Regions from separate parts of the Homo sapiens genome. Here all the other regions are linked to region 1. The links are contacts of gene promoters, found by promoter capture Hi-C in blood cells and fetal thymus (Javierre and others, 2016). All regions are on one chromosome and are shown on one strand. The core of a region is centred on a gene start or on the middle of the fragment in contact, and the rest is flanking DNA. Distances in the headings are between cores, read along the strand shown. Region 1 holds the start of RFPL3S (RFPL3 antisense). Region 2 overlaps YWHAH (tyrosine 3-monooxygenase/tryptophan 5-monooxygenase activation protein eta). Region 3 overlaps SLC5A1 (solute carrier family 5 member 1). Region 4 overlaps SLC5A1 (solute carrier family 5 member 1).

Evidence for each region. The method cuts DNA at HindIII sites, captures the fragments that hold promoters and counts their contacts. A CHiCAGO score of 5 or more calls a contact.
Region 2: a fragment that was not itself captured here is called in contact with the fragment with the promoter of RFPL3S in region 1 in 1 of 17 cell types (M1 macrophages); the score reaches 5.9 in M1 macrophages.
Region 3: a contact is called between a fragment that was not itself captured here and the fragment with the promoter of RFPL3S in region 1, in 3 of 17 cell types (M1 macrophages, M2 macrophages and naive CD4 T cells). The highest score is 6.4, in M1 macrophages.
Region 4: a contact is called between a fragment that was not itself captured here and the fragment with the promoter of RFPL3S in region 1, in 2 of 17 cell types (M1 macrophages and M0 macrophages). The highest score is 6.6, in M1 macrophages.

What each region holds. Positions count from the first base shown.
Region 1 is chr22:32,368,279-32,374,618 of GRCh38, forward strand. It overlaps RFPL3S (RFPL3 antisense), which reads right to left and starts at 2,986. Exons shown (of 5, transcript NR_104232.1): 1 at 2,920-2,986; 2 at 2,621-2,663; 3 at 219-289. The HindIII fragment of the contact is 20,480 bases long and covers 1-6,340 here.
Region 2 is chr22:31,952,498-31,958,837 of GRCh38, forward strand. It overlaps YWHAH (tyrosine 3-monooxygenase/tryptophan 5-monooxygenase activation protein eta), which reads left to right. Exons shown (of 2, transcript NM_003405.4): 2 at 3,642-5,106. The coding sequence ends at 4,295. LOC124905158 (small nucleolar RNA U13) reads left to right here and starts at 907; the gene lies at 907-1,009. The HindIII fragment of the contact is 195 bases long and covers 3,803-3,997 here.
Region 3 is chr22:32,061,565-32,067,904 of GRCh38, forward strand. It overlaps SLC5A1 (solute carrier family 5 member 1), which reads left to right. Exons shown (of 15, transcript NM_000343.4): 3 at 5,371-5,475. Among named protein-coding and RNA genes, the nearest start is that of SLC5A1, 21 kb to the left of the region's middle. The HindIII fragment of the contact is 1,055 bases long and covers 2,969-4,023 here.
Region 4 is chr22:32,082,801-32,089,140 of GRCh38, forward strand. It overlaps SLC5A1 (solute carrier family 5 member 1), which reads left to right. Exons shown (of 15, transcript NM_000343.4): 7 at 274-354; 8 at 1,639-1,859; 9 at 2,100-2,235; 10 at 3,420-3,527. Among named protein-coding and RNA genes, the nearest start is that of SLC5A1, 43 kb to the left of the region's middle. The HindIII fragment of the contact is 9,695 bases long and covers 1-6,340 here.

The DNA.
Region 1 (6,340 bases), core at 1,736-4,235:
GAAAGTGTCCCCTAACATGCTGTGTGTGACCCAGCCCTGCCAATTCCAGATGTCCTCTTCAATCAGGTGTCAGTGGGTGGGGTGCACCCCTCCATCCCCAAGGAAACATCATCTAACACCTATAACGCACCTGATCATTTTTCTCTATCTGATATCAATTGAAAAATGAAATAACCAAGAAAATTACACACATGTTAGGCAAAGACAGGCTACTTTACCTTGGTAACAGAGAAGGGGTCCTCACTTGCCCACTCTTTGGAATCCACCTTCCATTGATCTTCTGGGGGAACTGAAAGGACACAACATGACTGTCAGTTCATTGGTGGTGACATGAACAAAGGGCTAGAACTTATGGATGTGGTTGGTTAACAAGCATGAATTGAGCTTCTCCTGGGCCATCCTCTTCTATGGACCAAGGAAGGCAGAGAGACGGGCAGAAAGGAAATGAGAAATAGAGCCTTTGTCTTTCCAGGTAATAGCAGATGAAAGCGACACGAAATACTCAAACTTCAAATGAGCAACTACTAAAATGCATGCTAGAATTCAACCACAGAGTCCTGTCACTCCCTCAGCCCATTTTAAAGTCCAGCAGAACTGCCACTGACTCCTTGATATTGACCAACTCCCTTTCAACCTCCACAGACCCCCATCTGCTGCTGTAACATTTAACATCTGGGGTATAGGATTCAGCCCCTGTTTATGTGTAAATTTTTATTGAGGAACTAAATTCAATATCAGGTACCAGGGCTAATTATATTTACTCAATTCTTTGTTATAAATCAATTATTAAAAACTGGAAAATACTGAAATACATGTTAAAATATCCACTGTAAATCAAAGATCTTCCTTTTAGTCTTCCCTTCCTATCCCTTGTGTTTGCAATCATTGCATGAGGGGGCCTAGTTTCAGCCAGGTCTAGTTCACCTAGCCATATGAGGTCTAGTTTCAGCCCAAGCTACCCACAGTGAAGGAAGGCAGAGTGAGGAGATGACCCCATGTGAGCACCGAGGCTCTTTAACCCAGCTGTACAGGAGAGTTGCCACAAGGGTGACACCTGAGGCTAATTGTGAAGTGGTATCCTGTGTTCTGTGATTCTTGTGCCTTAGCCACCTGAGTAGCTGGAATTACAGGTGTGCACCACCACGCCCAGCTAATTTTGCATTTTTAGTAGAGATGGGGTTTCTCCATGTTGGTCAGGCTGGTCTTGAACTCCTGACCTCAGGTGATCTGCCTGCCTCGGCCTCCCAAAGTGCTGGGATTACAGGCATGAGCCACCGCGCCCAGCTGCCTTATTTATTCTTAACACATGTAAGTGCCTCTAACTTTCGATTGTTTCCAAGTCATGGAACGAACAACCTCCTTAGAAAGAACTCTGAAGGATAGGTCAGGAGAACTAAGTCACACAATCCATCAGAAACAGTATTAACAGTTTTTCAAAGTTACACTTTATATGCAAACTTGTACAATTATCATCTTATTATTTTTAAATGTATCTTTACATATATGTATGTGACCTACGTGTTTCCTGGTGTGAGTAAATCTGTATGTTCTTGGTTAATAGTGTTTACCGATTCATTTCACTTCTCTATCTTTGTATGTTGAAATATGAACTACTCTCTGGATGAGAAAAAATGATTACACTTGATTATATTTACCTTTGGAAAGGTAAGTGGTTTGGGTGATTGACTATAATTGTTATCTCTATCATTTTGGATAAACCCCAATCATAAAAATAAGTGTGTTTTGTTTCACACACTGACACATAGACAATACACATTCTTACTTCTTTTCAAAAAGTTAATATGTGAATATAAATGACATATTCCAAATTTACTAAACTGAATACACATTTCATGAAAAAGGAGAGAGGAAAGACATACTAAAAACAGGCCAGGGCCTGGTGTGGTGGCTCACGCCTGTAACACCACCACTTTGGGAGGCCGAGGCAGGTGGATCACCTGAGGTCAGGAGTTCAAGACCAGCCTGGCCAACATGGTAAAACCTTGTCTCTACAAAAATACAAAAATTAGCCGGGCATGATGGTGGGTGCCTGAAATCCCAGCTATTCGGGAGGCTGAGGCGAGAGAATCATTTGAACCCGGGAGGCGGAGGTTGTAGTGAGCCGAGATCGCACCGTTGCACTCCAGCCTGGGCGACAGAGTGAGACTCCATCTCAAAAACAAACAAACAAACAAAAAAACAACAACAAAAGACAAAGATGGACACACTTCGTTGTGTTAAAAGCCTCAAAGACATCTGCATCATTCTAGCTTTGCTCCTAATTTTTAAAATTAATGATTTTAATAGGTTCTTAATTAGGTAAAAACTGCATTAAAACATACTTTGCCATATTTTTCCCAGAAGGATACCTAATTGGGTGGTTTGAGGGGTGCCAGATGTAACAGGAAATAAGACATGTCTTTTAAATAAAGGAAAAGCTCAAAGGCATCCTGCTTGATACTAGAATCAAATATATAAATTGAGGAATAAAACATAACCGGGAAACACATTTATAACTGCATATGAAAAATACAGAGGAGAATTTTTTAATAAAATATATTTTTAAATATTAACTAGTACATTTGAGAGGACAGCATTCAACAGGCCAATGTGAACATACCTTTAATGCAGGAACTCAGGTTCCCCATAAGAAAGACCAGAATCTGTGAAAATGACAGCAAGCATGTTCAACCTGCTATGAACTTTGAAAAACTCAGCACAGACAGTGGCAGTTAGGACCGAGGGCAAGATATACCCAATCACATAACCATGGTGATAGGAGCATCATCAACGTCTCAGGGTAAAGTCACAATGTGTATTGTGAGGTCCGCTTTCTGCTGCACCAACAAGAGTGCTTTCACACGCACAGGAGGGTCATTAAAGATTAGGCCTTTTACGGCAGGGAGTGGTGGCTCACACCTGTAATCCCAGCACTTTGGGAGGCCGAGGTGGGTGGATCACGAGGTCAGGAGATAGAGACCATCCTGGCTAACATGGTGAAACCCCGTCTGTACTAAAAACACAAAAAATTAGCCGGGCGTGGTGGCGGGAGCCCCCAGCTACTCGGGAGGCTGACGCAGGAGAATGGCGTGAACCCGGGAGGCGGAGCTTGCAGTGAGCCGACATAGCGCCACTGCACTCCAGCCTGGGCGACAGAGCGAGACTCCGTAAAAAAATAAAATAAAATAAAATAAAATAAAAGATTAGGCGTTTTACTTAAAAAAAAAACAACAAAACCCAAGCTCATTAATTACTATTCTGTGCTTATTAAAATAAGTTTTAGGAGGAGAAATTGTGTACCCCAAAATACACTCAATGGCAAGAATTTCAAACTGAGCAGGGGCAAAACCGATATGTTAGTAACAACCAGAAGTTCCATTCTCGATTCGAAATTCCATTGCCAAATATTTCTACCATTCCTGAGTCATCTAATATTTCTAGAACCAATAAGCAAACTGTTCAGAATTAAAGACAGCATAAATGGATATTGTTATAAAAGTCATGTTTCTTAAAAAGTGACATTTTTTAAAGTCACATTTTAAAAGTCATATTTCCCTAAAAAGTCATATTTCTACCATTCCTGAGTGATCTAATGTTTCTAGAAGCAATAAACTGTTCAGAATTAGAAAAAAGTGTTACTTGATATTATAAAAATCATATTTCTCTCACAATATAATTATGAAACTTATTTTTCCACTTATCTCTATATATTACTATGCACTTATTTATCTCCCAAACTTTGTGAATTCACAGAGGAATTTGTCTACCATTGTGTATGTAAACGGCTGGCCATTCACTGAGTATTTAAAGGAAAAAAAAATCACTATATTTTCACCAGTGCATCTTCTCGGTGGGGTGAACACTTTGGGTGAATACATATAATTTTTTATTTGAGACAGGGTCTCACTCTGTCACTCAGGCTGGAGTGCAGTGGCTTGATCATGGCTCACTGCAGCCTTGACCTCCCAGGCTCAGGTGATCCTCCCAACTCAGCCTCCCATGTAGCTGGGACTACAGGTTCTTGCCGCCATGCTCAGCTAATATTTTGTAGAGATGGGGTTTTTCCATGGTGCCCAGGCTGGTCTTCAACTCTTGGATTCAAGCAATCCACCCACCTCGACCTCCCAAAGTATTGGGATTAGAGGCGTGAACCACCATGCCCAGCCTAATACATATAATTAAAGTGTTTCTGAATGCAGAATTTTAGATAACTTTCAAAATGTATAACTACGTGTGTATTCTGGCTGATACATAACACCCAATTGCAAATACTTTTATGATATGCCCAAGAAAACAAGCTGTTGAAAGTGACCTGCCCTAAAATAAATAGAACAAATGAAAATTTTAGGGTTAAGATGAGAGAGTTGCTATGTTTCAAAGAGAATAGGTACCCTTCATGATATAAATATTACAGTACAAATGTCTATCATTGCTAAGTACAAATTTCTAGAACAAATAAATAGGTCACAAATGATGTATACAATCTGCATTAATATAGATGATGCTATATTTTGTCCAGTGATTATAAAACAGAGGGTGTAATGGGGTAGGTGCTGAAAGAATAGGTCATTCTGTGTTGTTATAAACAGAAAATTTCAATGGCTTCCAGATTGAACAAATATATGTATATACACAAATTATACACACACACACACGATACTATAGTTATATGTGTATGTGTTTGTATACTCAGAAATGCAGCAAACTAAAAAAAAACTTTAACAATCCCCACAGATTCATGCTTCTGAATGCTCAAATGGAGGAGAAAATTTAAAAAGAAGTGGAAAATATAGTGAGAAAATCTACTCATCCTATTGGAGGAGCTGATATCTATTTTAAGTTTAGAGAGGCAGGCTTAAATAAGTAAATGTTTAGGATTTGAAATTTAATTGTACAAGTATTTTTTTCGTTGAATTTCCTCCCAACTTTGTAAAATCATCAGATCAAAAACACATCATTTGATTAGGGTGCAGTTTTATAGTACCTAACAATCAAGATTTTGGAAAAAAAAAAAAAAGTTGATGATGGTGAATTTTGATAAATTCTAACATTGTCCTAGTTGAAAGAGGTAAATATGTTTTTATATGTGCTAAGAATTGTCTAATTTAAGAGTACAATGATGTTGTTATGACTGTTGATAAATTTCAATCGTTTTTGAAATTATAACTAAAAGAATGTTTTTATTTGGCTATTATTCCAGTTGATTTCAACAATGCTAAGTGAAATACATGTATCAGAACAAAATCATGATGATGTCACAAATGTTAACTATCTAATAGCTACTGTAGGTCAGACTTTTTTTTAATTTGAGTCTAATTTGTTTCTTCCATCTTAAAACTCTCTAACATGAATTAAAGGGCTAAAAAGATGTACTGATTAGACATTTTTGATTAAAGGTTTGGTAAACTAAACAGTACTTTCATCTAGCATTAGGAATATTGAAAGCAAGAAAATGGATTATTTAGTAACTATGTAAAATGCATTAGTATTAGAGTTGCATTACTTAGTATTGTGGTTGTCATCTAGCTTTTTTTTTTTTTTTTTTTAAACGGAGTCTTGCTCTGTCGCCCAGGCTGGAGCGCAGTGACGCGATCTCAGCTCACTGCAACCTCTGCCTCCCGGGTTCACGCCATTCTTCTGCCTCAGCCTCCCGAGTAGCTGGGACTACAGGCGCCCGCCACCACGCCCGGCTAATTTTTTGTATTTTTAGTAGAGACGGGTTTTCACCGTGTTAGCCAGGAAGAAATGTTAGTGTAGAAAGGTAATATATTCCAAAAGAATCTGTTTTTCTTAATGAAGAGTATCCACACAGACACTCATAGCAAAAAAAATTATAAGATGCATCAGAGATAAATAAAATAAAGTGTAGTCTTCCTAGAGCTGGATTTAGTTTCTGGTTTGATTTATTTTAACGACAGACATAAGAGATCACTTCGTAATGAAGTACAATTTCACACTATAGAAACAGAGTAAAAATATCTTTTTGAAGAAAATGCCAAATCTACCTTTAATCTCAAGGAAATAGGATCGCTCAAATAGATCTGTTAGCATGTTACATATTAATAGACAACCTGCTGTGTAAATTACTTAAAAGCCATCTTTTGCAAAAATTTTCTCCCATTCTGTAGGTTGCCTGTTCACTCTGATTATCGTTTCCTTTGCTGTGCAGAAGCTCTTTAGTTTAATTAGATCCCATTTGTCAATTTTGGCTTTTGTTGCCATTGCTTTTGGTGTTTTACTCATGAAGTCTTTGGCCATGCCTACGTCCTGAATGGTATTGAGTTCATGTCCTTTGCAGGGACATGGATGAAGCTGGAAACCATCATTCTTAGAAAACTAA
Region 2 (6,340 bases), core at 2,650-5,149, 410 kb before region 1:
TTTCCTTTTGTTAACTGAATTATAACCCAGGAGTATTAAAAAATACTGTATTTAAATGTATCCAGTTATTTCCTAGTTAGGCTCTGGCTGGGGTATTAGGAACAATATTTGCTTGCTGAGATATGTTAGTCACCCTCAGCTAATGCTGATAGTGATTCATTCAGACTGGCAGGCAACCAGATGATTTTTACATAAACACTAATACTCCCAGTAAATGATTTTTCTTGTGAAGGTGTCATCATAAATACTGCCCAGTAGCCTTTTTTGGCAGCTTATTCCTGATGGAGAAAGAATATGCTTACAGATACACCCAAACTTCACGTTAGTAGGAAGCCCTGCCACACCTTTTATTGGTGCACAGGAAAAACGAAATCATGGAACATTGGAGCTGAAGGAGGCCTTGGAGATCATTTGGGCTAATCCTGCTTATTTTACTTTGGATGTCCAAAAAGGTTGTGATTTGTTTAAGGTCACATAGCTAGCTCAGACTAAACTTCAGATGTCTTGGGTTTAATAATTATACCGCCTTTTGTGTTATGCAAGCATTCTGTATTATACATACATGTATTTCAGATTTGTACTCACTTTAAATGATATACTCTGGGAAGTTACCTTGGTGTATCTTTGCCAGTTTCACAGAAGCAGCTTTGTTAGTCACAGGAGGAAGTATATTGTGACTCCTTATGGATATTATTTGTATTTTAATGCCAAATGGCCTTAGTTTAATTACTACAAGATGAAAGGAGCTCTCCAAATTCTGTTGTTGCCTTATGCTTTGTTTTATTGAATATTGCTCTAGAAACGCAAGTCATTCTAGAGGATTCAAGCATTCTGAAATTTATCAGAATATTTGGGATGGAATTTTGATTCAGAAGTGTTGTTCGTTAAAAGACTAAGTAGTTACTCATCTTTTTGTAGTTCATAAGTGTGATGATTGGGTTTTGACATGCAGGTGTGAGATGTGCCACCCTCAAACCTTGTTACAACATAGACATGTGACCCTCTGATGTGGGCAAAAAAAGACTAAGTTATTAAATATTTACAAAGTCTCTATTTTCCGTAAGAAAATGTATGTAAGTGTTTAAAGGCACTTACTGGAGGAGGAAACTAGTGGGGTTATAGGTGTTCAGCTGGATTTAAGGGGAGCATGGATTGTAGATTCATGGTAGACTGGGGCAGATCACAGTGAGAGGTATGGAGACTACTAATGAATATGTGAGGATGAATAATGAGAACCCTGGCTTGACCAGAGTGGAGGCAGCACCCCTGGGGAATGGTCAGGATAGCTGTTAGCCAAAGACCACACTGAAGAAAGAAGTGGGTAGGCAAAGGAGAGACTTTGCCTGTGTTAAGGGTTTGTAGCAGAAGAGTAGGGGTCCTGGGGACAGGGAAATGGAGAAATTAAGAGTGAGCTGGTATTTTTATTTTGTCTGGGGCTTGGGGGTAGGGAGGACTCAGACAATTGCTTGTTTTACTTTGTGAGAACTTGGCACGTTTTCTGATTTTTACCTGTAATAATGATTACACTTGCTGCTTATGTCCTTGAACCACTAATTCCCCAAATAAACCATCATTGTTCATGATTTCTGATACTCCACTGCTCAGTCTTCTCAATCCATTTTAAGTGTGTCTATTTGAATATGCTATTGATAACTTTCCCCAATGAACTTGGCCTTTTCCCTCTGGAGGTTCTGTCCTTACAGATTGGTTTAAGTAATACCTTTTTTGTTTAGTGTTTTATGGTTTCCTAAGTGCTTTGCTTTCTTTTTTTTCATTATTGAAATTAAAGACCTTTTGGATAAGCAGAGACTGATTTAATAAAATTAAAGACCTTTACCAGTAGGTCATATTAAGGAATCCCTCTACTTTAGACGACACACCATCTTTTAAGGGCTTGTGAAATGTCCTGGGTCAATTTAGGAAGTCATTTTCTTTGCTTGGGCCCAGACCAACTCTGTTAGCAACTCTGTTAGGAACTCTTGTTAGGAAACTCTGTTAGTTTCCTAGGGGGTGCTGAACCTAGTACGACAAACTGGATAGTTTAAAATAATAAATGTATTCTCTCATAGTTCTGGACGCTAGAAGTTTGAAAGTGAGGTGTAGGCAGGCCACGCTCCCTCTGAAGGCTCTAGGGAAGAATCCTTCCTAGGCACTCTCCCAGCTTCTGGTGGCTTCTGGCAACCCTTGGTGTTCCTTGGCTTGTAGATGCGTCACTCCAGTCTTTGCCTCCACTGTCACATGGCATTCTTCCTGTGTGTGTGTCAAAATCTCACTATCCTTATAAGGACACCTGTAATTGCACTTAGGGCACACCCTAATGTCCAGTATGACTTCATCTTAACTAATTACATCTGCAAAGACCCTATTTCCAAATAAGCTCACATTCACAGGAACCTAGGGTCAGAACTTCAGCGTATCTTTTGGCGGGGGATACAGTTCAACCACTGCAAAGTCTAATAATGCTCTTCCTACTAACTGCATAGCTAGTTCACTTGTAGTTGGCATCATGGAGAACTAAGGGAAGTTAAAGCTTGTGAAATTTAACTCTTCCACTTAAAATAATTGATGCTTCCATCCTTGATGACCAGAGTTTCCTGTGAGGTAGGTCAGAGTACAACTTCCTGCTGAGTAGCTGTGCTTCCTTTCACTAGGAGCTGGGGGTACTTTCATGTCACTTATGAATTGTTCTTCATTTTGGTTTGGGAGAGGGCTGGGAGTATCAGTTAGGGTTCCATGTGTAGCCACACAGGGCGAAGCTCTGGCCACTGGATCTGTGTGATGTTCCATCTGATCTGTGAAGCCCCACCATCTGTTAATGTGTATTTGAGGAGTGGTTGGTTCTTTCCAGAGTATAAAGCTGGAAGCAGAGTCTGGAACACTTCCAGTCTGTTGTCTTTGAACATTTGACAAAGGGACCGTACGATCTTACTGTTCAGAGTATCTTTTTTTTTTTTTTTTTTTTCTTTTGAGACGGAGGCTTGCTCTGTCGCTAGCTAGGCTGGAGTGCAGTGGCACGATCTGGGCTCACTGCAACCTCCGGGTTCAAGAGTTTCTCTTGCCTCAGCCTCCCAAGTAGCTGGGACTACAAGCGCGTGCCACCACGCCCAGCTAATTTTTGTATTTTTAGTAGAGATGGGGTTTCACCATGTTGGCCAGAATGGTCTCGATCTCTTGACCTCATGATCTGCCCGCCCTTGGCCTCCTGAAGTGCTGGGATTACAGGCATAAGCCATCGCGCCCGGCCTGTTCAGAGTATCTTTTGCAGAATGGCTGAAGCTCGAGGTTTTCTTCTTCACCATTATGTACTGCTGCTGTACAACCTTTTCATAATTATCCTTAGTCCCATTCCTCTACCAAGGTGAAAGCAACATCTTATCAGACCCGAATTATGAATTTCTCAAGCCCCTATGATTTTCTGTTTTGGGTGCCAAGTATTTATCTCTTCTGTTAGACTATAGTCTTTCTTCACATAGGGTTCATGTCTATATTGGTTTTATCCATGGGTGGTTTTTATTCTCCAGAGTGACTGACCTGTTCGTAATTCCGTTCTTGAGAAGGATTGTTGATTATGTTGAAGGGAAGGCTTCTTACCAAGATTTTCAGATTTTGCTTTCAATGTTTATCTTTTTGGGGTTTTGCAGGTGACAGAGCTGAATGAACCTCTCTCCAATGAAGATCGAAATCTCCTCTCTGTGGCCTACAAGAATGTGGTTGGTGCCAGGCGATCTTCCTGGAGGGTCATTAGCAGCATTGAGCAGAAAACCATGGCTGATGGAAACGAAAAGAAATTGGAGAAAGTTAAAGCTTACCGGGAGAAGATTGAGAAGGAGCTGGAGACAGTTTGCAATGATGTCCTGTCTCTGCTTGACAAGTTCCTGATCAAGAACTGCAATGATTTCCAGTATGAGAGCAAGGTGTTTTACCTGAAAATGAAGGGTGATTACTACCGCTACTTAGCAGAGGTCGCTTCTGGGGAGAAGAAAAACAGTGTGGTCGAAGCTTCTGAAGCTGCCTACAAGGAAGCCTTTGAAATCAGCAAAGAGCAGATGCAACCCACGCATCCCATCCGGCTGGGCCTGGCCCTCAACTTCTCCGTGTTCTACTATGAGATCCAGAATGCACCTGAGCAAGCCTGCCTCTTAGCCAAACAAGCCTTCGATGATGCCATAGCTGAGCTGGACACACTAAACGAGGATTCCTATAAGGACTCCACGCTGATCATGCAGTTGCTGCGAGACAACCTCACCCTCTGGACGAGCGACCAGCAGGATGAAGAAGCAGGAGAAGGCAACTGAAGATCCTTCAGGTCCCCTGGCCCTTCCTTCACCCACCACCCCCATCATCACCGATTCTTCCTTGCCACAATCACTAAATATCTAGTGCTAAACCTATCTGTATTGGCAGCACAGCTACTCAGATCTGCACTCCTGTCTCTTGGGAAGCAGTTTCAGATAAATCATGGGCATTGCTGGACTGATGGTTGCTTTGAGCCCACAGGAGCTCCCTTTTTGAATTGTGTGGAGAAGTGTGTTCTGATGAGGCATTTTACTATGCCTGTTGATCTATGGGAAATCTAGGCGAAAGTAATGGGGAAGATTAGAAAGAATTAGCCAACCAGGCTACAGTTGATATTTAAAAGATCCATTTAAAACAAGCTGATAGTGTTTCGTTAAGCAGTACATCTTGTGCATGCAAAAATGAATTCACCCCTCCCACCTCTTTCTTCAATTAATGGAAAACTGTTAAGGGAAGCTGATACAGAGAGACAACTTGCTCCTTTCCATCAGCTTTATAATAAACTGTTTAACGTGAGGTTTCAGTAGCTCCTTGGTTTTGCCTCTTTAAATTATGACGTGCACAAACCTTCTTTTCAATGCAATGCATCTGAAAGTTTTGATACTTGTAACTTTTTTTTTTTTTTGGTTGCAATTGTTTAAGAATCATGGATTTATTTTTTGTAACTCTTTGGCTATTGTCCTTGTGTATCCTGACAGCGCCATGTGTGTCAGCCCATGTCAATCAAGATGGGTGATTATGAAATGCCAGACTTCTAAAATAAATGTTTTGGAATTCAATGGGTAAATAAATGCTGCTTTGGGGATATTATCTCTGTTTGGTCTTGATTTTTCCCCCCTCGAGGAACTGTTTAACCAGTCACAAATTGTGGTTTGAATCTCTCAAACATGGAAGCATTTGTAGTACATTATCCAAGTTTTCCTCCCCTCTCATTACATTACATATTTTGCAGCACACACATAGGATTCATAGATTTTAAATAGTTTTCTGTGAACCCAGCTAACATAGCCTCTCTGATCAATTTTCCTGATAACTGGTGCTTTTTAATGAGCCTCGCAGAACAAAATGCAGTCTTCCACAGTATAGCACCTCTGAAACATTGTGGGCTCTGTTGAACTTGAGAGTGTATTTAACACTGAAGGTAAATACGGAGCTTATACACGTCCTCAAGTTTTCTTAATGTAATAAGATACTAGGGGCACAACTTGCACCCCTGAAATCTTTAGTGATTATTGTTAAGCATTTAGTATTCTTTAAAATAGAAAAGCAAACCTCATTGAGTTAAAAAGCCTAACCTACCCCTTAAACACTTGCTTAACCCCAATGTGTCTCTCGAGCCTCAGCATCACTGGCTGACTGTTCTTGAGTGAGGTGGTTTCCAGCTCCTCACGATTTTTATCACCTCCAGAGTGGCACCTAGGAATGAACGTTTGTTAGGTGAGTTGGTTCAGTTACACAGAACCCTTAAACGCCTTTTTCTATTTGTTTGTTTTTTTGAGATGGAGTCTCGCTGTGTCATCCAGGCTGGAGTGCAGTGGCATGATCTCGGCTCACTGCAGCTTCCACCTCCCAGGTTCCAGCCATTCTCATGCCTCAGCCTCCTGAGTAGGTGGGATTACAGACGCCACCACCACACCAGGCTAATTTTTGTATTTTTAGTAGAGATGAGGTTTTGAGTGTTGGCCAGGCTGCTCTCAAACTCCTGACTTCATGTGATCCACCCACCTTGGCCTCCCAAAGAGCTGGGATTACAAGCGTGAGCCACCGTGCCCAGCCTTAAACACCTTCTTGACTAAAGTTTGGCATTAGACTGATGGAAATGGCCATGACACAATCTCTGTCCTTGAATTTATATTGTGGAGCACATAACTTGTAAGCATGTAAGTTTAACCTGTTTCTTATTCTGAAGTAGAGTATGAGCCCCGCCCCCCATGCCGGGGCCGATGAATACGGCTCAGGAAGCCTGTTTCAAGTTGACCTAATTTTAAGATAAAGTGGTTATTGAGTTTCACTTCAGTTAGTAGGTCAGGTATTTGAAAGTCAA
Region 3 (6,340 bases), core at 2,246-4,745, 310 kb before region 1:
ATTGTGTCTTGTTAAGGCAAACCAAATTGGTCTTTTCAGGAATCTAAATTGCAATGGGAGGAAATCTGTTCTTGCTGAATGTTCCAAATAACAGAGAGGCAGATTCTTTAATAGTGATGGCAATTAGAGGGACTGGCCTAGGTCCTCCGTACTGCCAAGAACTCATGGCTGAGTGACAGGTTTCAAAGAGGATTTGAAGGTGGATGATGTTAAAATCTTACAGGAAGTCAAGAGGGGCAGCTTGCTTCATTTTGGATGGCTCATGTTTGGAATAGTCTATTCAGGTCTGAGGTCCACTTTGGGGACAGAGATGGGGCTCAGGGCAGCAGAGAACAACAATGGTGATGAGAATCAAGTCCATTGTCGATGAGGAACAGACACATGAGAAGAGGAACAGACACATGAGAAGTCTGGGGAAAACTGAAGCAGGGAAACCATCCCTGTCCTCAGATATTGGAAGGGCTAACTTGTGGAAGAGAGATTTTACTTGTTCTGTTGCACTATAAAGGGTGGAAGCAGGACTGATGGGTAGACTTCAGCTCAAATAAAGAATGACTTTTTAACAAGTAGAGTTGTTCTACCACAGATTCAGCTGCATTGTAAGGTAGCGAGTTCTCTGTCACTAGAGGTATGCATTAAGAACTGACCATCACTTGGGAGGTGTTGCAAAGGGGACTTAAGCTGTGGCATCCACAGACCCATTCCACTCTGAAAGATTCAATGATTGGTTAATTTTTCCGTACATCTCCCCTCCCACCAACCTTCCAGGATAGGACATCTACGTGGTAAAATGTGATTAATTCCCTAAAATCAAAAGAATAAATAGCCTTTCTGCATTTTGTGATGTGACATTATGTTATTTTCCCAATTCTCATGCTCTCAGACCTGTTGGGTTTGGTCAGACTCAGTTCATCTTGCACAACAAGCAGCAAAAGTATCCACATACTTGTAATGGCCTTTTGAGTCCCATTGGAGGGTGAGGAGGGTTGGTAAAGTAGTAAGTGAGAGGTGAGATCAAGTTGGGGAAATTTTAGATAAAGTCTGAAATCCTGAATTCACAGGAACATGGGGGAGAAATTCTAGAGAAGGACGTGATGATTGACGGCACTGGGTCACTCCCTGCATGGGAGTGGTGCCCATTCTCAAATGGGCATGAGCATGGATGAGGAGTGGACAGAGAAAATGTTTGGGAAATTGGCATGATGAACGCATTGTTGGTGAGTTCCAGCAACAGGAGTGGCAGTGTAAAAACCTGGCAGGGGAGTACAGGTCATAAAACAATGGTGTCTGTCTTAGTTGGCTCAGGCTGCCACAACAAAATACCACAGACTAGGTGGCTTAAACAACAGAAATTAATTTTCTCATAGTTCTAGAAGTCAAAAATTGAGGTGCCTTCAGGGTTGGCTTCCGGGGAGGCCTCTCTTCCTGGCTTGTAGACGGCTGCCTTTTTGCTGTGTCCTCATATATGGCCTCTTTACTGTGCATGTATATGGGGAGAGAGAGAAAGAGATTTCTGGTGTCTCTTCTTATAAGGACACCAATCCTATCAGATTGGGGCCCCACCCTTATGAGCTCATTTAACCTTATTATCTCCCTAAAAGCCCTATCTCCAAATACCATCACCTTGGGGGTTGGGGCTTTAACATAGGAATTTTGCAGAGAGGACACAATTCTGTCTATAACAGTATCCATTGTAGCTTTTGCTAAGTGTCTTTGAGGGTGAAGTAATTATCCTCTTGGGAGGAGAAAGGAGGGAAGGGACACTGATTGAGAATCAGCTGTGTCAGTCACAACTGGTTCATTATTTCATTTGACTCCTGCACCAACCCTGCCATGAGAGAAGACGGAGGCTTGCAGATGTTCTAATCACCCAGAGAGTAAGAGGTCAAGAAAACATTCAAACTTGAGTTGTAAAGCTCATGCTGTCTCTGCACTTGAGGGAACTTTACCTTGAAACCTTGCTATATTCCTAAGACAGTTTTTAGGCCTGTAGCTGTCAGGAAGACCACCTGACAGGCCCTTTTGGGTGTCCAGGAAAGTCTCTGAATAGGTCAGTGTTATGATCAGAGTTGTGCTTTAGGGAGGTTGCTTGGCCATGTGGGTGGGTGGGGAGGTGACTGATGGAAAGGAGAGAATAGAGATCCTCTAGCAGCCCGCTACTTGGTCCTGTTGAGAGATAGTGACAGGCAGCACAAGGGCTATCTAGAAAGAGCTAGGTGGCCATAATATTGTGAAGGCAGAGTCAGAGTTTTGGTAAATGATTAAGTGTAGGTCATGGGGTAAAGAGAGGGAGTCCAGAATGAGGAAGGTTGTTCCCCTAATAGAAATGAATAGAACCTGGGCTCAGGACATTCTGATACCCGAACTCTCCTGGCCTCATTCCACTCTCTTCTCAGATAGTGAGTGGGGACTTCAGGACAGCCTGACATTGCTTAAAGGACAATGTCCCTGTTTGGGAGAGATATTGGAGAGGACTTTTTGAACTTATGACTCATCTAATGCAGTTAATAATTTCTGGTAATTATGTCCTTAATAGTACAGCATTAGGCTTAATTATTTATCAAGCAAGAGGTGATAAATGAAAAGATAGTGGGTCAGGGCAGGTAGGCCACTTGCAGAATGAAACTTTTGATTAAAAGTGGACTGTTAGGCTGGGTAGGGTGGCTCACATCTGTAATCCCAGCATTTTGGGAGGCCAAGGCGGATGGATTGCTTGAGACCAGGAGTTCAAGACCAGCCTGGGTAACATGGCGAACCCCCGTCTCTACAAAAAATACAAAAACTAGTCGGCTGTGGTGGTGCGCGCCTGTAGTCCCAGCTACTTGGGAGGCTGAGGCTGGAGGATCACTTGAGCCTGGGAGGCAGAGGTTGCAGTGAGTTGAGATGGACCACTGCACTCCAGCCTGGGTGACAGGAATAAAACCCTGTCTTAGGAAAAAAAAAAAAAAGTGGACTGTTATCCCCCTCAAGCTTTGAGCAGAAGGAGGTAGATGTCTCTAAACAACCTGCCTTCCCCTAGTTTCCCCTTCTTAATGAATGGCGTCCACCCAGTTACTCAAGTCCCAAATCTAGGAGTTACCTTTGATTATTCTGTCCCACATTTCCCACATCTAACCTATCAACAGAGCCTGCCAACTTTGTTTCTAAAACATACTCCCTAATCTCTACGCTTGCCTTTGTCTCAACTGCTGTCACCCTAGTCCAAGCCACTGTCCCCTCTCACCTAAGCCAGGGATAGTCTCCCAGCTGGTTGTTCTATTTTCTTCCTTGCCCCCAACACTGCAATCTATACACAACTTAGAGCAATTTAAAAAAGCAAATTAGGTCCTGTCCCTCTCCTGCTTAAAATCCTCCAGTGTCATCCCATCTCACTTAGAATAAAACTAACTTTTTTTTTGAGTCAGGGTCTCACTCTGTCACTTCAGCTGGAGTGCAGTGGCACGATCATAGTTCATTGAAGCCTGCAGGTCCTGGGCTCAATTGATCCTCCCTCCTCAGCCTCCTAAGTAGGTAGTACTACAGGCACGCACCACCATGCCCAGCTAAGTTTTTACATTTTTTTTGTAGTGGCCGGGTCTCACTATGTTGCTCAGGCTGGTCTCCAACTCCTGGTCTGAAGCAATCCTCCTGCTTCAGCCTCCTAAAGTACTGGGATTAGAAGCATGAGCCACCACACCCAGCCTAAATGACTCTATTTTAAAATGTTAAGATCACAAATCATTATCATATATCAACCTTCTTTTTGCTTCTCAACTGTGCATACCTGTGTCAGGGGGTCTTTGCTTAGGTGGAATGCTATTCCTGTGGTCTCTGAATGATTAACTTTTTTGTCATTTAGATCTCAGCTTAAAGGTCTGAATTATAATAGTAATTCTTTAATATTAGAGAAAGTCCATAGAGTCACCTTCTCAGACTCTTCAATCTAATCACTCTGTCATACCCTCTATTCTCTTCATAGCACTTACCACTCTCGGATCATTGTTTTTGTTGTTTATTTATTTATGTTTACAGTATTTGAATATAAGCTTCTTGAGAGTAGGGATTTTGTCTGTGTTATTCACAGCTGTTATTAGTGCTTAACACGTGTAGTAGATGCTAAGTTAATATTTGTTGAGCAAATGTATTAATGCACCTGCACCAACCACTGTCTCCTCATTGTCATTCTGAGAACTTCTTCTGGCTAAGCCTTCAGAAATCTCCCTCTCCCCTGACTTAATATTTGGCACTAAGCACCAGCTGCCTTATACTGGGAATAGGGGCTGGTATAGTTAGAACAGTTTCTTGGCATAATCTCTTTTGGGAAATAAGCGTTTTGTTCCAGGTTTGGACCATCTTTGGGACATTAGATAAGTAACTACAAGCCACTCTTCATCTGCTTAGCAAGAATGGGGATAATTACACTTGTTTGGTTCTTATCAAATGCTGCTGTACCTTCTCCTCTTGGATACAGAAGGACTTTAGAACTTTCTGGAGTTCTTTTTGGCCTCAAATGCAATTGAATTGCTGACACAGTATTATGATTGGTTGTGCAAGATCCCTCTCTTGCTTTACCTGATACTTTCTTTTTTTGTCTACCATTCACAGTCTTATTCTCCTTTCCCCTTCCAGTCTTCCACTCTTGGGTATTTGATACATGTGCTTCCAATCTGTCTTCTATAATCTGTATTTAGACATGTGCGTATCCTTGAAAAATGCAGTGTTTTGTGCACGTGTCCGTGTGGTCCCTAGAACCTTTGTAAAAAGTATCAATACTGTATGATCTAGAGAATCATTATTATTATTAATATCATCTCTGTTACTTGGGAGTTCATGGAGTCACATAATTTAATAGCTAGGAATCACTTGCAAATCATCAGCTCCACGCCCCTCCTCATTTGACCAAATGACTAAGGTCCAGAGGCTTCCTTTGAAATGATTTCTCTCAAGAAAATTGTCAGTGTTTACTGAGAGCCTGTATTGGGCAAGACCCTAAGCCACCAGGCATGCTGGGGGATATGGAGATCAAGGGCTCATGCTCCTAGGCACACAGCCTTGAAGGAGATTTTTAGGGAGGCCTGGTGGCTGTGGGACTTCCCATATCTTCTTCAGGATTGGACACGGGGCCCACAAAAGACTCACAGATGATCTGGTTTTGGGATACATCCCACTGCTCCTTCTCCAATCCTCTCCTTTTCATCTTTACTGTTTTCCAAGTTTCCACATCTGCCTTCTGAACCAGCTGTCCCTGATGATTCCAGCACAGTTTTCTCCCAGCCCACCTCTGCTCTTTCTTGTCCTTCTCTTGGCTGACATGTCTCCTCTCTCTTTGACCCACTCTGAGTGTCCTGGGAGAGCACAGAGCCCTCACCTGACTTTCTTTTGCGTTTCCAGATTGGAGCCTCCCTCTTTGCTAGTAACATTGGAAGTGGCCACTTTGTGGGGCTGGCCGGGACTGGGGCAGCTTCAGGCATCGCCATTGGAGGCTTTGAATGGAATGTGAGTAACACTGCAGCCATGGTGCACTGGGGCTGGAAGGAGCCTTAGCAGTCAACCAGTTCAATCTATGCTCAGAGGAGCTGAAGATGTTAGGGAACCCTTCAGGGTCACCCCAGGGTGCAGACAGAGGAGGGGCATGACTTCAGGAGCCTCAGGGCCCTGCTCCCTTTCCACCAGAGTAGCATGAGAAAACCACTGGTATGACAGCAATAGTATTTTTTCTGTTTTCTCTTCATGTTAAAAAGCCAAGGCCCTTCTAGCCATGTTTGAGGTTTGGAAATGCTTACCACCAGATTTCCATTATTATTATTATTATTTTTTTTAAAAAAATTTTTATTATTTTATTTTTAGAGACAAGGTCTTGCTCCACTGCTCAGGCTGGAGTGCAGTGGTGCAATCATAGCCTACTGCAGCCTCAAACTCCTGGGCTCAAGCGATGTTCCCACCTCACTCTCCCAAGTAGCTGGGACTACAGGCATGTGCCACCATGCTTGGCGAATTTTTTAATTTTTTGTAGAAGCAGGGCCTCACTATATTGCCCAGGCTTGTCTTGAACTCCTGGCCTCTAATAATAATAGTAGTCGTCATAATAAATGTAATTATTAATTATTATTATTGTTATTATTAAAGCTCTCTAAATGGCATTTTACTCTGTGTAAACCAGGGAAGAGGTGAAGGAGAACCCAGTGCTCTAGCTGTGGCCCACTGCTGTGATGTTGATGAGCAGCCTCCTGGGCTCCTCTCTGCTGTTTTCTAGCTGCTATTTCCATGGGTCAGTTAGGCAGCAAAGGCCTCCTGCAGTCTCTAACGGCTCCTTAGGGGAGAACATGCTGGGTAATTTTTCTGCAGCAGCTGAGGGGCCCTT
Region 4 (6,340 bases), core at 2,571-5,070, 280 kb before region 1:
GCCATCTTCTGGCTCAAAAGGGTCACACCAGACTCTTTCCCCTCAAGTAGGGAGAAACATTCGCCACTTCTATGACAGGTGGAGCTGTGGGAACATGCTGAATAGCAAAATACTGTAACAGGACAAGGGAGGGAAGGAAGGAGAGGCAGGCAAACCACTGTGGGGATGTTCTCAGAAGGCCAGCAGAAGTAGAGGGTGGAGAGTGGGGAAGGAAGCAAGTAGACAGGTCACCCTCCACACGAGGTCAGATGTGTTGTCTTCTTGCCTGCTTAGGGGGCCTGGCGGCGGTGATTTACACGGACACCTTGCAGACGGTGATCATGCTGGTGGGGTCTTTAATCCTGACTGGGTTTGGTAAGTGGGGCCAGGGCAGGCTGAGGAGGTGGGAGCAGAGGTAGAGGGCCTCAGGAAGAGGAAGGCAAGTCCAGCCTCTCTACCTGCTTGCCAGACTAGGCAGTGAGCTGAGGCATGCTCTGCCCTTCCAAACGGAGGGTCCAGCCCAGATGGGCTGTCATTGTGGGTATGCAGGGTCAGCTTCCTTATCCCTGGAAGACTGAAGCTGGGGCTGGTCCTGGATTTTCTGCTGCCCTCTCTCACCAGTCTGGGCTAGTGGTTGTGCTGTGAGCCTGTGATAACATGGTGTTCTGTTTGCAGAGAAACTGGACAAAAAAGGATAAGGCTAAATATCCATCAAGCTAAATCTAGTCAAATGTTGCGTCTTCCATCTTAGGCTATATCTTATCTACATTTTGATGTCAAATATCCTTTCTTTTATGAATTGTTGATAGTGGGTGATAATGTTCCTTTTAATGCCCCTATTTGGCAAAATTAAAAACTTGGCTCCTCAGGGTTGGCCCTCCAATTAATTTTTTTTTTTTTTGCAATTTTACTTGTCTATGAAATCTTAAAGATGAGACTGGAGAACCTAGGTAAGGGTACTTATTATGGGAGGATAGAAAGTACATTTTATTTCTAGGTGCTCAAGGCCCACTGTGTATCCTGCAAAAACTTGTATTTGCTCTCCACTCTTCTGTTTTCTAAGGACTTTCATTTGGTTCTCCCCAGCAGGCCTTGGGTGTTAGCTAGGCAGGCAGTGGAATGACTTATTCAAGGACACACAATTGAGAGGTGGCAGGTTCTGGATTCCTCACCCATTCCCTGTCCATCCCACCACATGCTGGGTCCAGGAGTGGTAGGTGTGGGTCTGAGGTCCCAAAGGCCACTGTGTGTGTCTAGGTCTGTGTGTCTCTAGGCCTGAGTCCAAGGCTCCAAAGGCCATGGCTGACAGCAGAGGGTGAGGGAAAAAACAGAGTCTTTGTATGTGGTCCCAAACCAAGGTCTTTCTTTGATTAATAAAAGTCCCTTCCCTTTTACAAAGAGGTTTACAGTTGGAGTACTTTTACAAGTGATTGCTTTGGTCCCCATAATAGCCCCCAAGGGGGCTGGGCAGGGCTACTAATCTCATTCTATGGATGACAAAGCTGAGGCCCAGAATGGGAAGGTGATTTGCCCAAGGCCACTCAGTGAGGGCTCTGTCTGTGGGTTGGGTCCTCTCAGTTTCTCAGGCATCTATGGAAAGAAGCTGCTATGACGAGTTGAAGGTTTCAGAATGTTCATTTCTGTACCGATGTTTTCCAGCTTTTCACGAAGTGGGAGGCTATGACGCCTTCATGGAAAAGTACATGAAAGCCATTCCAACCATAGTGTCTGATGGCAACACCACCTTTCAGGAAAAATGCTACACTCCAAGGGCCGACTCCTTCCACATCTTCCGAGATCCCCTCACGGGAGACCTCCCATGGCCTGGGTTCATCTTTGGGATGTCCATCCTTACCTTGTGGTACTGGTGCACAGATCAGGTACCCAAGCTGGATGTGCGGGATGGACAGAGTCTTCTCCAGGGCCCTACAGGAACTCCTGTCTGTCTGTGGTTTGCAGGGTTGGGACAGGGAGGGGAGAGCTCAGGTGGTTTGTAAGTTGCCACGCCCCAGTGATACAGCAGTGCCAGGCCAATGACCCAAGATGGCGAAGCTAGGAAGTACAAAGGTGTCACAGGGTCTCTGGTCTGCACACCTCCCTTACTGGGCTTTTTCTGGCAGGTCATTGTGCAGCGCTGCCTCTCAGCCAAGAATATGTCTCACGTGAAGGGTGGCTGCATCCTGTGTGGGTATCTAAAGCTGATGCCCATGTTCATCATGGTGATGCCAGGAATGATCAGCCGCATTCTGTACACAGGTAATAACTTCTGCTGGACCCACAAACCACTCTCCCTTTTTCTGTCTCCAAGTCACTTCTAAAGCTCTATAGCTTCCCGCTTCCTCCTCTTTTTTTTTGAGACCAGGTCTCACTCTGTCACCCAGGCTGGAGTGCAGTGGTGTGATCATTGCTCACTGCAGTCTCCAACTCTAACTCCTGGGCCCTAGTGACCTTCCTGCTTCAGCCTCCTGAGCAGCTGGGACTACAGGTATGTACCACCATGCCTGCCTAATTTTTAATTTTTTTTTTTGTAGCGATGGGATTTTGCTATGTTGCTCAGGCTGGTCTTGAACTCCTGGCCTCAAGTGATCCTCCTGCCTTGGCCTTCCAAAGTGCTGGGATTATAGGCATAAGCCACCACGCCTGGCCCTCTTCTTTATTTGTTATGGTCATATCCAAGCATTATTGCTCCTGTGCTAGACAGTGAGCAACTTGAGGGAACTTTTGGAGTTGTCTTCCCTGGTTTCTTATGTCGACAATTGTTTCCTCCTTTTTTTTTTTTTTTTTTTTCAAATCTTCTAAAGTTATGACATGCCTCCAGGTCACTTCTCCCTAATAATATTTGCTCAATTGTTGCTTAATCTCTTGCTGTCATCCTTCCACCCTGAATGTTTCTTTGATTTCTTTCCTCCGTTGCCTAGAAATTGTCTTTCTTCCTTAGTCAGAGCTCATCAGTGTGTCAGGGCCAGCAGGGCGGGGCAGGCACCAAAGGGTTCTGTGGAGAGCTGCACTCCTGAGGAACCATTTCAGAGCCTTGGAAAGGAATATCCTGTTTGAAACCTTGTTTTAAGAAGGTGAATTTTGGCCGGGCACGGTGGCTCACGCCTGTAATCCCAGCACTTTGGGAGGCTGAGGCGGGTGGATCACGAGGTCAGGAGATCGAGACCATCCTGGCTAACACAGTGAAACCCTATCTCTACTAAAAATACAAAAAATTAGCCAGGCATGGTGGTGGGCGCCTGTAGTCCCAGCTACTTGGGAGGCTGAGGCAGGAGAATGGCGTGAACCCGGGAGGCAGAGCTTGCAGTGAGCCGAGATCGTGCCACTGCACTCCAGCCTGGGCTACAGAGTGAGACTCCGTCTCAAAAAAAAAAAAAGAAGGTGAATTTTGGAAATATTTCCCCAATGTCTGCTTGCTGACGTGGCTCTCCATCTCTTCCCAGAAAAAATTGCCTGTGTCGTCCCTTCAGAATGTGAGAAATATTGCGGTACCAAGGTTGGCTGTACCAACATCGCCTATCCAACCTTAGTGGTGGAGCTCATGCCCAATGGTGAGATTCTTTCTTGGGAGGTTGGTAGAGTCTTTCTTGGGAGGCTGATTGGGTTTAGGCACCACCTACATTCCTGTGAACCTTCTGGGCAAAGACATTTCTTAGCCGGGGGGTTAGAAGGGAAAGCATCATTGTGGGTGTCCTCAGTTTTTGGACATGTCCTCTCTCAGTGGGAAGGAGACATATGACTTGGTTGGGTTCTATGAGTTCTGGGACTTGCCCATCAGTCAGGCTTGGAAAGGAGATGATCTGAAAACTTGTTAGAGAAAAACATGACTTTCCATACTCATACAGAAGGTCTTTCAAAGCTCTCCAACAGTGGATGTAAATTAGCACACCCATTATGGAAAACTGGATGGTGGTCCCTCAAAAAATTAAAAATAGAACTACCATATGATCTAGTAATCCCATGACTGGGCATATAGCCAAAGGAAATGAAATCAGTGTTTTGAAGAGATATCTGCTCTCCCATGTTCACTGTAGCATTGTTCACAGTAGTCAAGATGTGGAATCAATATAAATGCCTATCAATGAATGAATGGATGAATGGATAAAGAAAATGTAATATACAGTATATACACAATGGGATACTATTCACCCTCAAAAAGAAGGAAATTATGTCATTTATGACAACATAAATGAACCTGGAGAACATTATGTTTAGTGAAATACTTTAGACTCAAACAAATACCACATATTGTCACTTACATGTAGAGCCTTAAAAAGTCAAATTTGTAGAAGCAGAGAGTAGAATGGTGGTTACTAGGGGTTGGGGTGGGGATCTGGGAAGATGTTGGTCAATGGATACAAAATTTCAGTTAAGAGGAATAAGTTCAAGAGATCTATTGTACAACATAGTGACTATAGTTAATAGCAACGTATTGTATACTTGAAAATTGCCAAGAGTAGATTTTAACTGTTCTCACCACAAAAAATGTTAAGTATTTAAGGTAATGCATATATTTGCTAATTAGCTCAATTGAGCTAATGTATAGATATTTCAAGACATCATATTATATACCCTCAATATACATAACTTTTACTTGCCAATTAAAAAATATTTTTAAAAAGCTCTCCAACAGATGTTAAAATGAAGGCTTGAACTAGGTCCAAGGGGTTTTACCTGGAGAATGAATTGACTTTTATGCTCTTCCAAGGAAACACATGGGGAAAGAGGCAAGATTTCAGCTCTAGAATGAGAAAGTCTGAGGCAGGAGATGGATGGCATTCAAGGCGGCTTGTCACCATAAAGAATCTGTTTTCCTAGGAGACTGAGTACTTAGCTGTGACTCCTGAATAGCTAGAGTTTTGTAGTTGACCTGTGGGATTACAGTCATGTTTCAGAAAAATCTCCTAATTCTGGCTCAAGGGATACAAATCTGGCTAGGGGGTTAGGTTAGGGGGTTTCAGGAGAACAAAACTTCAAAGTTATTACCTAGAAAAATTTAGAATAAACCTATAAAATTGTATTACTGAAAAGAAACTTAGAGACTAGTCAAATTCTTTCATTTTACAGTTGGGGAAACGGAAGCCAATAGAGGGGAGGTGAGTTTTCCAGGGCCAGGCAGGAACGTGGTGTCTGGCATTTGGCATGCTTAACGCTGCTCAAGGCTGGAATTGAGGAATTCGGGAGAGTCTTTTAAAAAATTAAAAAACTACAAACTTCATGCATGACTTTGGGCAAACCATTTGCATTCAAATTATATAAAAATGGGAATAATACTTAACTAGCCTACTGAGCTGGGCTGCTTATTCATAAGGTTACAATTAGCAGGAGTCACAGTGACTCTTCTAGAAAAGTTCTGGCATGGATTGCATTGGCCTCTGTGGAGTGTTTATGTTATTCCTTTAGGTGGGCAGACCCTCCTAGTGAGGACTAAACATTATGCGGGAGTGGACTGTGCACAACAGAAAGATGTGTGGCATGCAGAATAAAATGCCGTGCTTCCCTGTGCCATTGCTAGTCCCTCCTCTTGGCTGTAATCTGGCTTCAGTAAATACTGCATTCCTTTTTTTTTTTTTTTTTGAGATGGAGTCTTGCTCTTATCACCCATGCTGGAGTGCAATGGCGTGATCTCAGCTCACTGCAACCTCCACCTCCCCAGTTCAAGCAATTCTCCTGCCTTAGCCTCTGTAGTAGCTGGGATTACAGGCACCTGCCACCACGCCCAGCTAATTTTTTTGTATTTTTAGTACAGACGGGGTTTCACCACATTGGCCACGCTGGTCTCAAACTCCTGACCTCAGGTGATCCACTCGCCTCAGCCTCCCAAAGTGCTGGGATTACAGGTGTGAGTCACCATGCCCAGCCTACTGTATTCCTTAATGACCTCCCTGTGCTAGACTAAATAGATATTTTCCATTCCTCACCTTACTGGATCCCTCAGTGGCATTCAGCATTATCGATCACTCATCCTTCTTGAGTTGTTCTCTTCTCTTGGATTCCATCATACTGTATTCTCCTGTTTGTCTTTTTAAATTTTCCCCATCCTCTCTGGCTGCTCCTTTTCATTCCATTTGCAGATTCAGCCTCCTCCACTCAGCAAGTAGGTGATCCTCCCACCAATCCACACCAACTTGTGTCTATTTTGTCTCCTAATGTATGTCTCTCTATTTTTACTTTTGTTACCCTAGTCTGATAGACCATTATTTTTTGCCTAGACCACTGTAAAATTATGCACTGTAAAATTGTGTTCAGCAAATATTTGTTGAGTAATTAAATGAATGGGGTCTGATAAGAGTGTCATACAGTGGGGAAAGTTCTATCCCAGCTTACCAATTTCAAGGCAAAGTAATCCTGAACGAATGGCAGA